Linked DNA regions of Homo sapiens: region 2 is linked to region 1. Evidence: promoter capture Hi-C in 16 types of primary human blood cells and fetal thymus (Javierre and others, 2016). All regions are on one chromosome and are shown on one strand. The core of a region is centred on a gene start or on the middle of the fragment in contact, and the rest is flanking DNA. Distances in the headings are between cores, read along the strand shown.

What was found. Contacts are between HindIII fragments. The CHiCAGO score rates a contact against its expected background, and 5 or more counts as called.
Region 2: a contact is called between a fragment that was not itself captured here and the fragment with the promoter of ELOVL4 in region 1, in 1 of 17 cell types (fetal thymus). The highest score is 5.4, in fetal thymus.

The regions. Positions count from the first base shown.
Region 1 is chr6:79,942,650-79,949,470 of GRCh38, forward strand. ELOVL4 (ELOVL fatty acid elongase 4) reads right to left here and starts at 4,904. Exons shown (of 6, transcript NM_022726.4): 1 at 4,531-4,904. The coding sequence starts at 4,630. It overlaps LOC124901350, which reads right to left. Exons shown (of 2, transcript XM_047419628.1): 2 at 4,738-5,362. The coding sequence starts at 5,166. The coding sequence ends at 4,738. LOC124901351 (a long non-coding RNA gene) reads left to right here and starts at 5,156. Exons shown (of 3, transcript XR_007059656.1): 1 at 5,156-5,278. RefSeq lists a silencer at 4,964-5,013. The HindIII fragment of the contact is 8,446 bases long and covers 2,717-6,821 here.
Region 2 is chr6:80,128,643-80,135,741 of GRCh38, forward strand. BCKDHB (branched chain keto acid dehydrogenase E1 subunit beta) reads left to right here. Exons shown (of 10, transcript NM_183050.4): 3 at 519-587. Among named protein-coding and RNA genes, the nearest start is that of BCKDHB, 26 kb to the left of the region's middle. The HindIII fragment of the contact is 7,198 bases long and covers 1-5,923 here.

The DNA.
Region 1 (6,821 bases), core at 3,654-6,153:
AAAACTTTGTCTTCCTAAGCCAAAGAATCTAAGTTAAAATAGTTAAAACTGTGTCCTGACACCCGTTTTAGAACCTGCATTGTTTACCCTCCTGGAATTCCATCTGCAATAGGATGTTTTACTTTATGCTATCATTGGGGAATGGATAAGAGCATTAGCTATTAAAGTCTAGCAGTCTACCACCAAAAATCAAACTGTGGTGAAGGAAAAGACAATAAAAACCAAACCAAAACAAAAAACCATAAAATGGCATGGACATCCCAGAGGCTTCAAGGAGCTTATGAGTAAAGGATAATTAGGACGTCACTGAAAACAGTGACCAAGGGAGATCCCATGTTAGGAGCTGGTGATGTTTCTTTCTTTCTTTTTTTTTTTTAATTAGCTGCCTACAACTTGGAATCAGAATGTCTTTTCTCAAAGAAACATTCAAAGAAAACTGCATTACCAGGCTTAGCCAAACAAATAAACCTATTTTAGATAATAACATAGATGAAAAACTAAACATTAACTGTGACGAATAATAAAATTAATGTAAGCATACTGTACAATACTTAAAATACATGCTCCTCTGGGACCTAGCAATCCCTAAGACAAACCTGCTTTTACTTCAGCTTATTTGAGCTGAGTTAAACATCCCCTCCCACTAGCCCCCAGCTTCATCAAACCTGGATGACTCACTGGCCTGACCCTTAAGCACCTTCCCAGTTTCCATGGTTTTCAGTCAAGCTGTTCCCCTTGCCTTTGACACCTTTTGCCCTAGTATGCCTCTCCAAATACTCTGACAGTACTCACATCAACTCCTCATTCAAGGGTAGAGGGAAGTAAACTGTGGTGAAACAGCTAAAATATTCTAAAAACAACTGTATATTCCTTTCACTTAGGAGAAGTAGAGATGAGAAGAGCAGGGAAGGACTTTTCTGATCTTCCCTAGGCCCCAGCTAGTCCTGAGTCTGACAGATCACACTGCCTCCAGACCATGATATCAAGGAAAGGGGAATGACAGTGACCCCCTAGACTTTGCAAGATGCATGAGGGCAGTGACCAAGTGTCCTCCTTTCCTTTCCAGAGCCTAGAACTGTGCCTGTACATGGCAAGTAAATACGGAAAGAAATGGTATCATAAGCCTGGCTTCCACATTTCGTCATCCTACAGCTCTCCTCCCTCTTCCTGTACCACTCATCCCTTCTTTCTGACCCCTCCAAAGTTAATTCAAGGACCCAGCAAGTTATGTTCTAACTGCAACTACCAAGTAGACAATTTTTTTCACCAAAATGCAGGGTACTATATCTGCGAAAAGAGGGCCAATGCCAATCATTACCACCCCCAACCAACAGACAGCACCCATACCCTGTGAACAACAGCTATTTAGAAACAAATGGTCAGAAGATACATGGCCTCACAGGAGACACCTGGCTTTACCGTAAGCATCCTACTAACTCTCTAGGGTGTTTATATGCTAAATGTCAGGTATGCAAAAAAGCTATTAAACATTTATTAAAAGCATGAATAAATGAATAATGTAGATAAGTTGGGTATTCATAGATTGGGGAATATTTAGATTCATCAGTTTAAAAAATGTATATACAACTTTTATTAGATGTATACGTTGAGCCTAGGACTCCAATCCTAATAATTTAAATGTACTCATGAAGTGAAAGAATAGAAGAAAAAAACTAACATGATGACATGGAATACCTACTCTAATACTAACAACTAGTATAAAGTCCTACACCAGCCTATACTTTAACATAAACCAACGCTAATTTCCTCGTTCAAAATGTCTACAAATACAGAGAAATAAAAATTATTTTTGTTGTTTTTCTAAAAGTATAGCTCTTTCAAACTTTCAATTCCAATGTACAAAGTGTTAATACTGTAGTAAAAGTAACATTTTTGTTGTTAACATTATTATGGACCATATTTTGTATTTGCTACATATGTGCCTCTGAAAAGCCCAGTTTTCAGACATTGCTTTGGATATGTTTGGATATTTAAAGCACCATTTGATATAATAGCACAAAATGGCATTTAATGAATTAATAAAAGAATGAAAGAAGCATGTAACTACAGCACTAGGAATGAGAGCAGCCAAGGACAAGGAGCCTACCTCATTTCTTGCTCTCCCTCAATAATTTGCATCCTTTCACCACACTCATCACTATTTCTCAAGACCATCTTTCTATCCCGCCCATTTCTGTTTCCCCTTCTTTCCAAACATTTGACTCACCAACTTTTGTTTAACCTCATCTTATAAGCTACTTTTCTATTTTGATATCCCCCACCCAGATTTTCATCAAATTATGCTGAGAGGTGGAATCAGAGCAGAGTGAATGAGTCCAAAAAAAAAAAAAAAAAAAAAAAAGGAACACGAGGGGCATAGAATGAGGGAGAGTAAACGTAAATGGGACACCACAGACTTCAGGTCTATTCGGCCTGGACCTGAAAAATACTCCTCCTCACACAGCAGTACAGCAGAACAGACTATATCCACTAAGCCTCTCTGTTGGTTAAGAAATACCATCTGCCTACATAAGGTAGCTCATTACAGAAAGCAAGGAAGCAGTCTCAGGTTTCGTAAGTGGATAGTCAAAGCATAGGCAAATACCTTCCTTCGGCCTGCTAGTGAGAGGTCACTTGTGTTCTAAGGCTACTCTCACTTCTCAGGCTTGGCCCACAATATTATATTATTTTATATGCCCTTCGAAGCCTAGTAGCAAGCTTTCACATGCGGCAACTGCACAAAATTTCCTGTTTCATTTGTGTGTGTGTGGTTTCTTTTACACAAACATCATCAGGAAGGAATTCACCATCACAGAAAGGTGTATTCTACCTTTGCCCTCAATTTTTCCTTCTGAGACTCAAGAGATGGGAAAGCTCCGGGATAGGATAGGAATGACAGGACCGAGAACTCCTGGGTGTGGCTCTGGCTATATGGAGACTGGAGTATCTCAACAGTGTCTGACTCCTAGGTGTGCGAAGTGCAATTACCTGCTAAAGAACTTGTCTGATGTTCAGCTCTATACAATTGTGTAATGGGAAGCCCTGATGCAACGTTTAAAGAACCGAAATCACAGACGTGAAGGGAAGGGCACATCTTTCCCAGTTTTTGCAGGTACAGTGTAACATCAGTGTAATAGCGCATAGAAACAAAAAAAAAAACTGAAGAAACACTCCATTGAAAACTGCCTTTTAACCATTTTCAGCTGTAATGGCTTATTAAATAGCTTATTTCCCAGTGTCAAAGTTGAGATCTTCTGAAAAAGAACATACTTTTCTAAAGAAGTGAATGCAGTATTAATGCCAAATAATCATTTTGTCTCTCACAAAAATAATTCCAGCATACGTTTTTCCCAAAACATAAGCCCTATGTATCGGACTACATTCATGCTGTAACCACTGTCTAATTTCCTCTAACAACAATGAACACAAAAACTACAGGAGTACATTTTCATTTCGAAGTAGGGAAGGCAGAGTCATAAGATGGAACGTTAATATCCTTCACTGATAGGATGCAGTGTGATACTGCAAAAGGACCAGAAAAATTGACCTCGTAAAATCATTTCTGAAATCCTTTAAACCTTATTTTAGATTTCAAAGACTTTTAAATGCTTTAAAATCAAAAGCAGCGAAGCAAATGAAGAAATAAACAGTACAATGTAAAAATATAATATCACAGTTGGACGCTAGGAAAGCTGCATAAATCAAACAATTGACAGCCCTGCCAAATTAACTGCAACAGCTAAAGAAAAGTTTGCTGATTTAAGAACTGTATATATGTAGGCATCTGGGACAACCTCTAGGTGTTGCTGTAGAGACCCCCTTCCTAAAGACTGATTTCTTCCCCGGTGTTTTGGCCTCCCCCTCCCCCTGACTGCACTGCAGTGCGCAAAGCCATTATAGACAATCACTTCAAACATATTTGCTGTTGAAAATGCCTCGGAAACTAACATTCTTCAAGGTTCAAGGAGCCAAACAATATTATTTTACTTTTCAGTCCGAATTATACTATAGATGAAGGAGCTAGATAGAAGAAAAGATTAGCAGGGTTCTGTCAAAGCGACCAGGAGGCTGAAGAAACCTCCTGTACCTTCAGCTGCCCCTGAAGCCCTCCTTCCTCCCCAGCCCGCTCTCCATACAAAATAGGACTAAATGTTAAAAGGAATCCTGTGCACGGGGAAGAGGGAGGCGAGCTCGGGAGATGTGGGAGCACAGGGTGGGGCGGCTCCTGCGAGGAGCTCCTGGCTGCACAGGCTCCATCTGATATGTCAGCTCCCGCATCCGAGAGCTGATGAGAGATGGAGGGAGCTCAGAAGAAAACCCTGCGAGTGTCGGGGGAGGGGAGGCCTTAACATTCGGATCAGATTAACCAGTGCTCAACCGCAGTGCCCGCGCCGGCCCCTCCGCTGATCCGCAGCATCCGAAAGCCGCAGGGCGCGGGGGCCTGTGGGGCCGGGCCCGGGAGCTGCGAGACCAGGGGCCGGTGACCCCCCGCGGGGGACCGAGCGAGGATGGGGAAGTCAGCGGCTTTACCTGCGATGGACCAGGTCCAGCGGTAGAACTCTACCGTGTCGTTGAGTGCCGTGGACACTACGTTTAGGACACTACCCGGCTCCGAGTCCAGGAGCCCCATCGCGGCGATGAGCGGGCGCTGGCGGCAGGAGAAAGCGGAGACCCAGAGAGAGGGCTGACCCCGGAGGCGGTGGCGGCCGACGGGGCGAGCGGCGGCCGGGAACCCCTCTAACGGCGGCGGCCCGGCTGCGTCTTCTCCTGCTCCTCAAGGCGCCGCGGCGGCGGGGATGCGGCAGAAGGCAGGGCCAAGCGGAAGGCGTCGTCAAGGTTCCCGGGAGAAAGACGAGGAGGTGGAGGAGGCCCAGCCGCCAGCACAGTGCGCTGCACCAGTCTGCAGCCTCGCGCAGCCGCCCCTCCAATCTCCTCAGCCGGCGTCACGTGGCCGCGCGCGGGGGCGGGGGGCCGGCCGCCCCTCCTCCCTCCCTCCCTCCCTAGTATTGGGACTCGCTGGCGTAGGGATGCTGCGCTCAAGGGTGCGACGCCAACTGGGCTCGCGCAGGCGCGCGCCGTCGAGCGGGAGCGGGACACCTGGGCTCCTCCTTGGCCCCTCCCCGCACAAGTCGCCTCATTAGCCTTCCCCGCCCCTGTCCCGGGCATCGGCCCCTGCGGAGGAGTTCACCGCCTCCCCACGGGTGATTTCTTATCCGCCCCGGATACGTCCTGGGAAACAGGACACGGGAAGAATGGGTGTTCTGTGGGCAAAGATGAGGTAGGCGTGGTGCTTTGGTCCTTACCTGACACTCACCTCGATTTCACTTGTGTTCCTGTTTCTTTGACCTCCACCAGCACATGCCTGTCACCATGACAAGAGAAGTGCATGTGTTATGCCTCTGAAGAAGTGAAGGGTATTTGTCTTCCATGCTTCAGCGATGGAGAATAGACTTTGGGGTCGACCCATGAACAAATCAACATATAATTGCATGAATGCTTGCATGTGTTTTGTAGACTCTTTTACTATACATGGAATGAACAAAGCAATATAATTGTGCTAAATTAGGCCATTAGTAGTTCAGAGAAGAGGGAGAACCGAGAGGGGCTTACAGGTGAAGTCCGCTTGAACCTGAAGAAGTTGAGGTGAATCTGAAAAAGATAATCGCTCAAGAGGCAAAGGGCAATTTAGTGTAGAGAGGAAAACAAAGTAATTGTGGCTATTTTGAAAAATTGTTTAGATAAGGTATAGGAGAGCCTACCCTTGAAAAGTAAAAAAAATACAGTACTTGGAATTCATAATTTGATGGTTTCTCACATAAAACAAGATTTTTGAGAATAGTCCTTTCATCTACTTGTTTTTTAAATGTGTCACCTACTTGTTTAACCTTTTCTCCACTTGCTCATTTTGGATGCTACATTTTAAAGACCAGTGAGTCAAGTGTCTTATTGTTCCTGCCCTTTCACACTGTTAATGTGAATACTATCTTTTATCATACTGAAATGATCTATTTCCCAATTGACCTGGTTATATATTGTCTATATTTTATATTGGAAGCATCCTAGATGGTAAGAATTATTTTTGGTTGCTTGATGAGTACCTAACCCAGTGCTATAAACAGTAATTAATAAATATTTATGATGACAAAAATATAACATGTCTTTCAGAGAATAATAAGGATTATTGTGAGTGGCAGGAACTTTATTGCCGAACTAAAGCAAACACAGACTTCTTTAAATGCCCTATTCTTGAAATTAACCAAATAAAATGTTAATTTATTAATTTGTCAAATATATTTGCAAATCTAAAGTTTTCTGGATTGGAATGACAATTTCTCAAGTCTCAATCCTAAATTATGTGTAACAGATTCTAGTAGCTATATAAAAAAAAGAAATCCAGTCAAGTCTCTTCATTTAGGGAGTGGATAAATACCCATTCATTTACAGTGATGATCTAACAAAGTTCGGATTAGTTCGAGCTTCACCTAAAAATTTGATTACTATTTCTATATTGTGGAATCCTGGAGTTTTTAGGGAGAACAGATCTCTACCCATACTTCCATTCACACACGCAAAACTGCAGCATAATACTTAATACAAGGAGAAATTGTTAAAACAGCTTCAGGTATTTCCCTGGTATTTCTTCTACCGTGGAGGTCAACTTAAGTCCCTATTCACTAGGGGGTGCCAGTCACGTATAAGAAAATCATAGATGAGATAACCTTCAGCTGGGAATGGCGGTCACACGGATATCACCGTGTCCACACTCCACCTGTAAGAGTAGAATGTTTATTTACATTTATAAGCTGTCTAAACATATACCA
Region 2 (7,099 bases), core at 1,075-3,574, 180 kb after region 1:
CAGGAAAAACCACAGGCCTGGAAGTCTGGAGCATGAGTCATAGTTCTGCCTCTAGCTTTCTGACTTGGCCAGTCAATTTACCACTTCTCTGGTCTCGTTTTCTTCATGGATAAAACAAATGAGATTCTAGATCAGTGGTTCTTTCTCAACTGGGGATGATCTTAGTCTCCACTCCCACAACTCTGTTTACATTTAACAATGTAAGTGAAGACACTTTTTGTTGTCTCAACTGTGTGTGTGTGTGTGTGTGTGTGTGTGTGTGTGTGGTAACTGTCATCCAGTGGGTAGAGACCAGGGTTGCTGCTATGTATCTACAGTGCACAGGACAGACCCTCACAACAAAAGAATCATCTAGTCTAAAATGTCAATAATGTAGAAGTTGAGAAACCTTGATCGAGATCTATGGTCCATTTATCTTTTGTGATTTAAAATGTAAACATTTAAATTACTTATTTCTCATTGTTAGTATTATTTAGAGATTATTAAATAAAATGTATTATTTAAATACTGTTTTTCAGTAATATTTGGTGAAGATGTTGCCTTTGGTGGAGTCTTTAGATGCACTGTTGGCTTGCGAGACAAATATGGTAAGTAAATACCTATATGAATAGTATTCTGATAGAACTTTTACTAAAAGATCTTAAAAATACAAAATATGCCTACTAAATTTTTTGTCATATCCCCATTGTATGGATGAATTCCTTTTCATTTCCAACGCCACCCGCAGAATCCTTTGGCCTATATTTTCTCAAATGTCTTCTAGTATCCCTCTGATCTAGTTCATATTACACATACAGTGTAAATGATTCCAAAATAATTGTCATTAAATGTATATTATTTATTGTGTCATTCTTCTGTCCAAGAACCTTTGGTGTTTTATTGCTAGCTGCCTGAGCCAATTTCAATTCCATTGCCTCCAGTTGGAGATTCTGCCTGTTGGGTCTTTATTAGCAAACTTTATCTTTTCGGGAAGAGAGAGAGAGAGAGAGGGAGAGGGATTTAGTTTTTAAGGAACTGGCTCATGTGAGTTTAGTTTTAAGGAACTGGCTGGCAAGTCCATAGGGCAAACTGGTTGACTTGAAACTCAGGCAGGGTTTCTGTTTTAGCCTTGAGGCTGAATTTCTTTTTGCTCGGGAACCTGCAGTCTTTTCTCTTAAGGCCTTAAATTGATTGTATGAAGCCTACCCACATTATAAAAGGTAATCTGCTTTATTCAAAATCTACTGATTTAAACGCTAATCACATCTAAAAAATACCTTCACAACAACTTCTACACCTGTGTTTGACCAAATATTAATAATTGGGTGCCATAGCCTGGTCAAGTTGACATATAATGAACCATCACATTATCCTTCTTACATGTTTTATCCCAGCTGATGTCTTTAATTGGCATGTGATTGATTTCTGCCCATTGCTTTTATTAATTTCATTTGACTCAGTTAAAATAATCAGAATGCATTTTGGTCCATCTTTGAATTCCCACTCTTCTGACTTGCAGTGTAAGGAATGTGTTTTGACCTCCTATTGTTAGGGATACCTTTGAAATGCTTTTGACATTTTATTTTTTGTCTTAGTCTTACCTGATTTAGAATTCAGCAAAGCAGTTCACGTGAGGGCTGGCAGGAGCTGATATCTCCCTCTCTTCTTTCCTTTGGCATTGCTCTATATTGCTTGTGTATTCATACGGGGCAAGAGGAGTGAGGGTCTTTAAAATTTTTTTTTAAATTGTTGTCTCTTTTTCTGTTCCACTCTTTCTGAGGTTATGTTATACTTAAATCCAAGAACCCATACATGTTCCATCTCACTTATTGGGAACTTCCAGCTTAGTCTTTTCTTTTCCATTTATAGCAGGTTGAGTTTCTGGATCCAGTCCGTCTGCTTTCTCCTACTTCTAATACCTGCTTAGAGCTTGAGGTAGTTGGGCAAAAGATTATTTTTCCTGATCATTTAGACTCCTGCTACAAACTTTTAGATCTTTAATAAACAGTTAAAAATCTTTACACATTTGATTTCAAAAGTAATGCATATACATTGTAGAAAATTTGGAAAATATAGAAAAGCATAAAGAAAATAAAAATTGCTCATGTTTTCAGAGATAACTTGGAGATAACCACTGTACACGTCTTGGTATATATACTTCTAGACTGTATTTGAATATGTTTGTATATATTAACTAATATTTCAAACACAGAATTATACTTCTGTAACTGAGTCTTCTCTGTATCCAGTATAACTATGCTGTGGAGCAGTGTCTAGACCTCACAATTCCATCTTGCCTGACTCAGTGTAGTAGCATGCCATGTGCTTTCTGAATAGCTAATATTTATTCAACTCACTGCGTCAGGTACTGTTCTGAGTGTATTACATGTACTGCTTCATTTATTCCTCCCAAAAAATCTAGGGGTTTGTGTAGGCTGTTGAGTCCTCTGCTGCCTGTCTGCCCAGGTTCTCATCCATAACACTCTGCTTACCCCTTCTGTCTGGGGCATTTTATCGATGCCATCTGCTGCTCATACACTGGTGACTCCTGAATTTCTGTCTCTAGTTCAGACTTCCGTTCTGAGCTTCAGATCTGTGTATTCAGTTTCTACTGCACATCTTCACCTCAGTGTTCCACAGTCACTTCAAACTCAGCATTTCCACACCTAAGGCTGCTACATGCACCCAGCAAATATATGCCTCCTAGTGCATTTCCTATTTTGGTGAATATATCACCATCCATTTAGTTACCTAAGCCAGACACTGGGGAAATTCTAAGTGTCTTCCTTCTTTCTAGTTCCCCACATCCAGTGAAGTTGTATAATTATATCTAATCTGGCCCCTCCTTTCCATTCTTACTGCCCTGATACTTAAGATCTTTCATTTTTCTCTGCCTGCAGAGTTTTATTTCTTTTCTTAGCAGTCACCACTCCTTTAGTCTTACCCTCCCTCCAATCCATTCCCTATCTTGTTGCCAGTGTGATGATTTTAACATGCATATTTCTTAGCAGGACATACAAAATACTTTTTTTTTTTTTTGAGATGGAGTCTCGCTCTATCGCCCAGGCTGGAGTGCAGTGGTGCGATCTTGGCTCACTGCAGCCTCTGCTTCCTGGGTTCAAGTGATTCTCCTGCCTCAGCCTCCTGAGTAGCTGGGACTACAGCCGCATACCACCATGCCCTGCTAATTTTTGTATTTTTAGTAGAGATGGAATTTCACTGTGTTGGTCAGGCTGGTCTCAAACTCCTGACCTTGTGATCCACCTGCCTCGGCCTCCCTAAGTGCTGGGATTACAGGCATGAGCCACTGCGCCTGGCTACCAAAGACTTTGAGAACTACTTAGGTAGCTACCTGACCTCATCTGCTTTTATTTTTATTTTATTTATTTTATCTATTTTTTAGTTTTTACTCTACAGACCTAGGAACTTGAGCTTTTTAAAATTTTTATTAAAACTAATGTTGAGTTACTGGTTGTTTCTCTTAAGCCCCCTGTTGTTTTTTCTTCTCTCTTCCTTTGCACTTGCTATCTGGGTCTCTCTACCCTGTCTGATTACCTGGTAGACTCCTATTTCTTCTTCAGAAGATTCCCCTGTGAAACTCTTCCGGACCCTCCAAGCAGACTCAGGCAGTTCTTTATCACTATTCACGCTGCACCTTTTAAATCTTGAAAGTTGTACTGTAATCCATAACTCCCACCAGAAAGTTGTCAAAGGCAGCAGATCTTTAAGCTGTTCCACAGAATGGATCCCTAGGACCTAATATTGTATCAGGCAGTATTTATGAAGTGCGTGCTGTTGAGTGAATTTACCCTTTGCTCTCACTTAGACAGTGTCCTACTGTCTCAGGAAGGGGATTTCCCTCTCTCACATTAATTATTTAGGTTGGTCTGATTTTATTTTCCTTAAAAAATAGGTTAAAATGGGGAGAAACTAACTCTTAACTTGAAAAAGTCCAGTGCTCTTAGAGGGTACCTGCAAATTTATGTTTCCTGTCATGGCAGGAGGCTGAGCTAACTAATGGCTAAGTAACTCTTTTAGCTTTATTGTCAGCAGCTGCTGTGAATTTTTACAATAGTTTTAGGGCAGTGAAGTTACACTTTATTAATTTCAGGTTGAGGATGTTGATCAAGATGAAAAATTAAATCGCTGATACTTTCTAATGAGAGTAAGTGAGCTTCTGTTTTCAGAAGTGAAGAATAAAGGAAAGGGTGAAGAGAAATATATTAAAATACATTTTTCTTGCATATTTAAAAAGTAACATATACTTAAAAAATTATCTGCCCTTTTGAATATAGGGCAGGAATTTTTAGCTATACAGAAGCATAACTGTCTGCTTAGGATTTTTAAAGGATAATTTGTATTTAAAATAACTAAAAGATTATGTTGATATAGTTCAATATAACAATCAAGTCACACTGCATTAAATGACATAGCAAAGAAAACCCTTGTGCCAGATCAGTTCGCTTTCTGGGGAGTGCTGAATGTTGAGTGGGAAAGGATCAAGTCAGCAGGTGGCAGCCTACCCTTTGAAATGAGAACATCCCTGTTGGCATTGTGCCAGCACTTGAACTGCTGCAAAGCATTTTATATTCCATCAGAAGGCGGAATTTGAAGGATTGTGGGTTACTGACATACGTTGTAAAGCTGAATACTACTTGATATGACAAAGAAGGAATTGCATAATTAGAGGCAATGCTATAAGAAAAGGAAGAGAGGCATAGAGCATTTTGTATTCCAGACGATCCAGATGAGTGTGGATTTAGTACCACTAAACTGCTTCTCTTCCTTGTCCTTTGATAGAACAAAATAGTATGAGTGCTTTGAAAATTAGAAGAAAGAAAATAGTATGTCCTCATCAACATTGCATTCCAAATGGCAGCTTTAACCACTGTACGTAATGAGATGTATTGATTAGGAGCAACAGCTGGACCTCTGGGGAAGCAGGGAGTGGGAGAGGGCAGTTAAAGGTAGTTGATTTGTAGGGTATGTGTGATTTTATGTTGAATGCCACACATGCTTTCTTTCTTTCTTTTTTTTTTAAGACAGAGTCTTGCTCTGTCACCCAGGCTGGAGTGCAGTAATGCGATCACGGCTCACTGTAACCTCTCTCTCCCAGGTTCAAGCAATTCTCCTGCCTCAGCCTCCCAAGTAGCTGGGACTACAGGTGCCCACCACCACACCTGGCTAATTTTTGTATTTTTAGTAGAGACGGGGTTTCATCATGTTGGCTAGGCTGGTCTCGAACTCCTGACCTCAGGTGATCTGCCTCCCTTGGCCTCCCAAAGTGCTGGGATTACAGGCGTGAGCCACTGTGCCTGGTGTCACACATGCTTTCATTCATATAAGTAATGAGACAGATTCCTCATGGCATATAAAAAATCCATTCGTATTGTCATTCTCTGAGAGAGAGAGAAAGAGAAAGAGTGTATGTGTGTGTGTGTGTTATTAAAATAAGATTTTGGTGTGTCAGGTTTAAGGTATGTTTGTAACATTATTCTATACTGATATAACTTGCCTGGTTGTGGTTCTTAGTGTATATTTGGCCCACTTATTGGAGGAAATTTAGGTGAGGAAAGGAATAGCTGAGGACCTCCTGAATTAGTCTACAGGCCTAAACATGTGCCTTTTCATGGGACTTGATGTTTTTCCATTACTGTATCCATTCCTTTACACCACAGGTGTGGCCTGTCATAGCAGCTTGGGAAAACTAATATAACCACTTACTTGTTTTCTTATGTAAACATCACTGAAATTGTATAACCAGATACTTTAATACACTGAAGTCAGGTTGGAAAACTAGGACAGGCATGCGGTGAAGGCAAGTTTTTGTCTATAATATATCAATATTTGGGAGTTGACTTTGGGCCTCAGTATCCTCATCAGTAAATTGAAGGGAAAGGACTAGGTGGTCCTCTGGGATTCTTCCAGAGCATACATTTAGGTAAGCTTTATGGTTTTATTTGTTTTTAAAAAGAGGAACACAGTTTTTTCATGCTTTGATTCCCTTTACATTTAGAGGTTTTTTTGAATATAGTTGTTATAGCATTTTGGAACCATGGGGTACCTTAGGCATTTAATTTAATTTTTTCTTAAGATGTCCCTTTTCCAGCGTTTTGTTTTATTTTATTTATTTATTTATTTATTTATTTGAGTTGGAGTCTCACTCTGTCACCCAGGCTGGAGTGCAGTGGCGAGATCTCAGCTCACTGCAACTTCCATTCCCCAGGTTCAAGTGATTCTTGTGCCTCAGCCTCTGAGTAGCTGGGATAATAGGCATACACCACTATGCCTGGCTGATTTTTGTATTTTTAGTAGAGATGGGGTTTCATCATGTTGGCCAGGCTGGTCTCGACCTCCTGACCTCAAGTGATCCGCCAGCCTTGGCCTCCCAAAGTGCTGGGATTATAGGTGTGAGCCACCACACTTGGCTGCTTTTCCAGCATAAGTTTTAAATTTAGGGGTGTTAGCAAAATCTTTGCTCTCTTATATATTTTTTGTGAATTATGAAATTAATGTCTTTAACAGAGAAAGTGATCTTCCATTATATGTTCTTGTTGCAAAGAACGGGTTATTTGGGTGATACTCATACTCTTGGATTTAGTGTCAGGGTTCCATTGTAGAATGGCAATCTGTGAGATGGGGGTTTGGTTTCTGGGTTGTTGAAACTAATTTTATGGAAGAAAAAAACAGGATAAAATTCAGGAAAATTCCTTAGGGAAATTGAATATGTAGAGGATTTATTTCCCCTATTGAAGTATACATATTTATGACATACAAGCAGATTGAATACCAGATATAGATTGTGAGATGTCTAACAGGAATTTGGAGTGAAAACAGGTATTAATAAGTTGGTGTAAATCTGGTTTCCTAATATATTTATTAAAAATATTTTTAAAGGATTGTTAGTAGCTTTAAATTGCTCTTGATATTACAAAGTTCTTTTGTTTTCCAAAGGTGCACATGTTGGCAGAACTAGATGAACATGTTTAATATGCCTTTTTTTCCCCACAGTGCTTTTTTCACAAACATTAATTTATTTCTAAAAATTATGGTCAAATATATATAACATTTACTGTTTTAACCATTTTTACAGTTCAGTGTTATTAAGTACATTCACGTT